Regions from separate parts of the Homo sapiens genome. Here region 1 is linked to region 2. The links are contacts of gene promoters, found by promoter capture Hi-C in human tissues and cell types (Jung and others, 2019). All regions are on one chromosome and are shown on one strand. The core of a region is centred on a gene start or on the middle of the fragment in contact, and the rest is flanking DNA. Distances in the headings are between cores, read along the strand shown. Region 1 has its middle 27 kb from the start of SCGB1D1. Region 2 holds the start of SCGB1D2 (secretoglobin family 1D member 2).

Region 1 (3,638 bases), core at 539-3,038, 79 kb before region 2:
ATTCAAGACATAGGTATGGGCAAAGAGTTCATGTCTAAAACACCAAAAGCAATGGCAACAAAAGTCAAAATTGACAAATGGGATATAATTAAACTAAAAAGCTTCTGCACAGCAAAAGAAACTATCATCAGAGTGAACAGGCAATCTACAGAATGGGAGAAAATTTTTGCAATTTATCCATCTGCCAAAGGGCTGATATCCAGAATCTACAAAGAACTTAAACAAATTTACAAGAAACAAACAAACAACCCCATTAAAAAGTGGGCAAAGGATATGAACAGACACTTCTCAAAAGAAGACATTTATGCAGCCAACAAACATGAAAAAAAGCTCATCATCACTGGTCATTAGAGAAATGCAAATCAAAACCACAATTAGATACCATCTCACACCAGTTAGAATGGTGATTATTAAAGTCAGGAAATAACAGGTGCTGGTGAGGATGTGGAGAAATAGGAACACTTTTACTATCAGTGGGAGTGTAAATTAGTTCAACCATTGTGGAAGACAGTGTGGCGATTCCTCAGGGATCTAGAACTAGAAATACCATTCTGTCCAGCAATCCCATTAGTGGGTATATACCCAAAGGATTTTAAATCATTCTACCATAAAGACACATGCACATGTATGTTTATTGCGGCACTATTCACAACAACAAAGACTTGGAACCAACCTAAATGTCCATCAATGATAGATTGGATAAAGAAAATCTTGCACATATACACCATGGAATACTTTGCAGCCATAAAAAAGGACGAGTTAATGTCCTTTGCAGGGACATGAATGAAGCTGGAAACCATCATCCTCAGCAAACTAACACAGGAACAGAAAACCAAACACTGCACGTTCTCACTCATAAGTGGGAGATGAACAAGGAGAACACATGGACACAGCGAGGGGAACATCACACACTGGGGCCTGTCGGCAGGTGAGAAGCTAGGGGAGGGATAGCATTAAAAGAAATACCTAATGTAGGTGACGAGTTGATGGGTGCAGCAAACCACCATGGCACATGTATGCCTATGTAACAAAACTGCACATTCTGCACCTGTACCTCAGAATTTAAAGTATAATAAGTAAATAAATAAATAAGAAAACAGGAGAAAATCCTAGTGTCTTTGTGTTTGGCACAGGTTTTTTACATATGACACCAAAAGTGTGAACTATAAAAGCAAAAGTCAATTGGACTTCATCAAAATTAGAAACTTTTGCTCTTTAAAAGTTACTGTTACTCAGCATCTTTCATTCTGCCCCGGGGTGGGATGGTACAAATAGCCCATCCTGCCGTATTCTCAGGAATAGAACGGGGCTTGATCCTCACCACTTGGTTAGGATGAAGATGAGAAAACCTGGGATTATCCAGGCTTTCTTGCTTCAGTAGGACCCATTTATGGATGCTAACCCCACCCTTCACTGTAGCCCACCCCGTTGCATGCCTGGCACATTTCCTCTTGTCAAGTACCTGCTAGCTACCTGCCATGTGAGGCTTTTCCTGTCTCCCTTAAGTAAACTAAGCCACAGCTTTTTTCTGGCTCCATCTGGGCTTTTCACAGCACATGCCTAGTCCACGTGTTGCAGTGGGATCTGGGGCCTTGAACTGTGGGTACCACTTGCTACTGAGCAACTGTGGCTGCTGGCTGAGTTCTGCGGGGGCAAGACCCATAGCAGCCTTTCTTCCCTCTGGGCTTCCATGGTGCAAACATTCCTCCAGGTTTAAGAAAGAAGAAAGAGCAGGCATGAGAAGGAAAGTGGGCTGTAACCTGTATTCCAAGGGATTGCAAACAATGCAGATCGCAGGTTATTCTCCTATCTGAACCTCTTGGAGCTTGATTCTGAGGCTTCCTTGGACATCTATAGAAACCTGGGTAGCAGCACTCAGAGCTAAGCTGAGTTACCTGATGCCTGAAGCACCTGCTCTGTACTCCTTACAGTGCTCACTGCTCTGAGCCAGCAAAGTAGAAAGTAACTTACATGGCCAACCCCAACCACATCCCCACTCCTGTCCAGTAATTTTGAATGTTCTCAACCAAAGAGATCTACCCTGCATGCTGGAAGGAGGAAGTAAACTACAGCTTGCAAAGGGGAGTTCTTTTTTGTTTTTGTTTTTTTCCTTTCTGAGACAGAGTTTCACTCTTGTTGCCCAGACTGGAGTGCAATGGTGCAATCTCAGCTCACTGCAACCTCCGCCTCCCGAGTTCAAGTGATTTTCCTGTCTCAGCCTCCCTAGTAGCTGGGATTACAGGCACATACCACCATGCCTGGATAATTTTGTATTTTTAGTAGAGATGGGGTTTCACCATGTTGGCCTGACTGGTCTCGAACTCGCGACCTCAGGTGATCCACCCACCTCGGACTCCCAAAGTGCTGGGATTACAGGTGTGAGCCACCACACCCGGCCAGGGGGGCTTTTAAAGTGCCTTTTAAGTAGTCATTCCTTTGTGGGGGTATTTGCTTTTATTGCAGTTTATTAAGCCTGAAACAGCTGACATGAAGATGGATACTTTGACTCAGGTTTGGTTGCCTGATCCATGAAGCTTTAATCTTACTTGCCCACAGATACACACACACATACCCCTACCTGTATTAATTTGCACTTTAAATATGCCCATTCCTCTGCTATTATGATATAGGAAAGTTGATAGTATCAGATTAATTTCAGGTGAACTATTCTACCTATAAAAGAATAGGAGCTAATAGGAGCTCCTATAAAAGAACAGGAGCTAATAACCCATGAAAGCTATGACGGTTTTTTTTTTTTTTGGATCTCTATTCTTCCTGCCAGCTCTGCCCCTGGCCTGGCAGGATTGGTTGAGTGGGGAATTGGTCCTTGAGAATTGGAGTAAGGGATCTTGAGGAATGTGTTTAGTGTCTTTGAGTTGTGATTTGAGAATAACAGAGGCAGGAGCCCTCTGCAGGGCTCCTGTCCTACTTGCCCCTGGGACACTGTAATAAGACAAGTATGGATTATGCCCAGTGAGGACTCCTATAACTAATTATTTAACTCAGAAAGTGCCCCAGAGGTGCTGGGGGTGCAGCAGAAAGGACTGGAGGGGTGCAGCCACTACTGCGGGAATGGTAGGGAAAGGGGCTAGGGGCTAGGGGCTAGAGGCCTTCTGCCCCAGTTATCTTATGTGGTGTTTTTTGTTTTGTTTTGTTTTGTTTTGTTTTGTTAGTTTGTTTGTTTGTTTTTTGAGAAGGAGTCTCGCTCTGTCACCCAGGCTGGAGTGCAGTGGCATGATCTCGGCTCACTGCAACCTCTGCCTCCTGAGTTCAAGCTATTCTCCTGCCTCAGCCTCCCGAGTAGCTGGGCTTACAGGCATCCGCCACCATGCCTGGCTAATTTTTGTGTTTTCAGTAGAGATGGGGTTTCTCCATGTTTGTCGGCCAGGCTGGTCTCGAACTCCTGACCTCAGGTGATCTACCTACCCTCCGCCTCCCAAAGTGCTGGGATTACAGGCTTGAGTGACTGCACCTGGCCCAAGTTATCTTACAGTGTCATTGTTTGCATGTTTGTGATGGCCCTAGACTTAACAGATAGAGAGCAGGCTCTATGGCTTAGAGAAAGACAGAAAACAGACAGTGATTGATTTAGGGTATGTAGGTAATGTGTAAGCCCAGGGCAGTGATGGTGGCTTCAT
Region 2 (3,532 bases), core at 329-2,828:
TAGAAATACCATTTGACCCAGCGATCCCATTACTGGGTATATACCCAAAGGATTATAAATCATGCTGCTATAAAGACGCATGCACACGTATGTTTATTGCAGCACTATTCACAATAGCAAAGTCTTGGAACCAACCCAAATGTCCAACAATGATAGACTGGATTAAAAAAATGTGGCACATATACACCACGGAATACTATGCAGCCATAAAAAATGATGAGTTCATGTCCTTTGTAGGGACATGGATGAAGCTGGAAACCATCATTCTCAGCAAACTATCGCAAGGACAAAAAAACAAACACCGCGTGTTCTCACTCATAGGTGGGAATTGAACAATGAGAACACATGGACACAGGAAGGGGAACAGCACACACCAGGGACTGTTGTGGGGTGGGGGGAGGGGGGAGGGATAGCATTAGGAGATATACCTAATGTTAAATGATGAGTTAATTGGTGCAGCACACCAACATGGCACATGTATACATATGTAGCTAACCTGCACGTTGTGCACACGTACCCTAAAACTTAAAGTATAATAACAAAAAAGAGAGAGAAATTTCTAGTGATTGATTTCCTGCTCACACCACACAAAGGCATCACAGCAGGAGGGCAGGAGGGTGTGTATTGCTTTGTCTGGGTGCTTCCTTCCCTTTCTATTAAAAATGGGATTGGCTCAGGCTGCACAGCTAGATTTGAAGTGGAAAACTTGAGCCTAGAGGTTGGGGGGAAGTGACCACTCACCCTGATCATCTGTCTCTTCTTTTCCATCTTCTTCCCCTCCTGGAGCCCCAGAGCAAAGAACTCTCAGTACCTGTCCGATGCATGATTGGCTCTGGACACTCCAAAAGCTACTTGGAAAAAGTTAGGCTATGTAATCATCAGGTCAACCCATCAACATGTGGGTGGCTACACATCACAGAAAGCTTGCTCCTCGTAGAGAGAAAATGTGAGTCTTGGCCATATTTATAGCTGCACTCATAAACAAGACTCAGGTTTGGGAGTGAGACAGGCTAGAGAACAGGTGCAGCAGTTGCTTTTCCCCAGGAAATCCTCCAAAGGTAAGATGCATTGAACTAGGTTTTAGGTACCTATGCAGTGAACATGGTGGTGATGGGAGGGGCTGAGGGGAATAGGTCTTGTTTAGACTTGCTCAATGTGCAACTGAAACAAGCCTACTGGTTGTCAGACATGCAGGGGGATCAAAGCAGGGTTTCCTTATGTCCCTGCTCCCCCATAACCAGAACACAGCCTTCCAGCTTCCTGTGCCTTCCAAAGTCAGAATTTACCTGTGCCCTTGAACTGATACAAAGAAAAAAAATAATCAGCAAAACTCAGAAGGAAACAGAATCCCAGGAATATTTCCAGAGGTGCCTGAACATTCACCTGGAACACAGAGCAGAGTTCCTGCAGGGCTACCCTCCTGTGCTCTGCCCCAGTCAGAGTGCAGGGAGGCGTGGGGAGGTGACACAGATGGATGGCAACAGCCCTGGGAAGGAGAGGTGGGCTGGGAGCCAGGCCTCATGACCAGTACCAGCTAGACTCCCTAGGTACAAATAGCCCTGGGCTCTGCAGCTCCACAGGCTCCTGGGGTGGAGTCCAAATCACTCATTGTTTGTGAAAGCTGAGCTCACAGCAAAACAAGCCACCATGAAGCTGTCGGTGTGTCTCCTGCTGGTCACGCTGGCCCTCTGCTGCTACCAGGGTGAGTACATCAGTCATGAGTCTAGCTCCAGCCCCTGGGAAGCACCCTCTTCCAAGCACGAGGTCACCTATTCAGGCTGGGGTTAGGATCTGCACAAAACCAAAATTCCAAACCTTTTTCTGTGCTTGTTGAACAAGCCCCTCATCAAGTTCAGAGCTATTTCTTCTACTCCCCAGCACCTACGAAGTTTTATTGAAAATCAGTGCAGGCAAATATTAGGAATTCTTCTGCCTGAGCTTCACTCCTGGGTGGGATCTGTGTCAGATGATGTAATGTGAGGTCTGGGGTGAATCTGGGATCCGCCACTTCCCAGCCCTTTGACCTTGGGCACAATGCTCACCCTCCCTGAGCCTCCTCCTATCACTGGTAGTTAGCGCTTCTGCCAGGAGAGGCTATGAGAATGGAGTAAGAAAGATTAATACTGTCAAAAGAGTCTAGCTGTGGGCTAAGCATGGCGGCTCATGCCTGTAATCCTAGCACTTTGGAAGGTCAAGGAGAGTGAATTGCTTGAGCTCAGGAGTTTGAGTCCGGCCTAGGCAACGTGGCGAAACTCCAGCTTTACCAAAAGAAATATGAAAAATCAGCTGGACGTGGTGACATGCACCAGTAGTCTCAGCTACTTAGGGGGCTGAGATGGGGATATCGCTTGAGCCCAGGAGGTAGAGGCTGCAGTGAGCCATGATTGAGCTACTGAATTCCAGCCTGGGTGACAAAGGGAAAAAAAAGAGTTTGGCTGTTGATATGAAGTGCTTTCCTTTATTGTGAGAGCTTGAGGAAGTCACACCTGAAGGGTCTGGCATTGTCATCAGCACAACAAATGTATGTGAACATATAACCCAGGGGATCCTGTCTGGTCTAACGTCAGGGAGCCAAAGAGAAAAATCGACTTTCCTAACATCAACTATATTTTTATTCTTTTGCTGCAGCCAATGCCGAGTTCTGCCCAGCTCTTGTTTCTGAGCTGTTAGACTTCTTCTTCATTAGTGAACCTCTGTTCAAGTTAAGTCTTGCCAAATTTGATGCCCCTCCGGAAGCTGTTGCAGCCAAGTTAGGAGTGAAGAGATGCACGGATCAGATGTCCCTTCAGAAACGAAGCCTCATTGCGGAAGTCCTGGTAACTTCTTTCTCCTTTATTTGTTAAGGCTTCTGGTCAGCTGCACAGTATGAAGTGAGGTCAGCTTGCTGCTCTGTTGGGGACACAGGTGGTGGGGCAGCTGCCTTGCTGGTCACCTCTTGAGAAGGTCACCTGGGGCCACAGGGTGGGTGCCACCATTTCACCTGCAGAATTCAACTCAGCTGCACACAGCCTCCTGCATGTTCCTCCTTCTCATGTCACCTGCCTGGATGCCATGTCCCCAGAGTGTGCTGAGGACATGGGGAGTGAGCCTGGGCCCAGGCAGAAATGGTAAAGGGCCAAGCATGGCCGCCTCGCTGCTGGGAGCTTTCCTGAGACCAAACTGCCCTCATGTAATGGACACAGTCACTGTGGAATGTCCTGGGGAGCATGGGAGCCTTGAACAGGGAGAGGAAGGCAGGGAGGGACATAGAGCAGGGGCTCCTGCAGATGTAGCACTGGCAGGCTGGACTTCTCTGCAGCTTCTGCAGAGCCAGGAAGGAGCCCCTCCCAGCTCCTGAGACCCCATACTCCCCTCCACACCCACGACACTCTCCTGACCATGGCCAGTCGTCCAAGACCCTAGCTAGTCTACCTCCTGCAGTGCCATGGAAGCGGGATGTTCTCACTCTGTCTTTCTCAAGAAATCAGAGGTTTTCCAGGGGCCTCTCTGCCTGGCTGCCTCTGAGTTGCTGTCCTGAGGTTTAGCTGCAAAT

Evidence for each region. The method cuts DNA at HindIII sites, captures the fragments that hold promoters and counts their contacts. A contact is called where the count stands out against the background at its distance.
Region 1: a fragment that was not itself captured here is called in contact with the fragment with the promoter of SCGB1D2 in region 2 in 2 of the 25 tissues and cell types used here (dorsolateral prefrontal cortex and pancreas).

Annotation. Positions count from the first base shown.
Region 1 is chr11:62,161,841-62,165,478 of GRCh38, forward strand. No RefSeq gene overlaps it. Among named protein-coding and RNA genes, the nearest start is that of SCGB1D1, 27 kb to the right of the region's middle. The HindIII fragment of the contact is 4,748 bases long and covers 1-3,638 here.
Region 2 is chr11:62,240,661-62,244,192 of GRCh38, forward strand. SCGB1D2 (secretoglobin family 1D member 2) reads left to right here and starts at 1,579. Exons shown (of 3, transcript NM_006551.4): 1 at 1,579-1,702; 2 at 2,629-2,816. The coding sequence starts at 1,648. The HindIII fragment of the contact is 7,638 bases long and covers 1-3,532 here.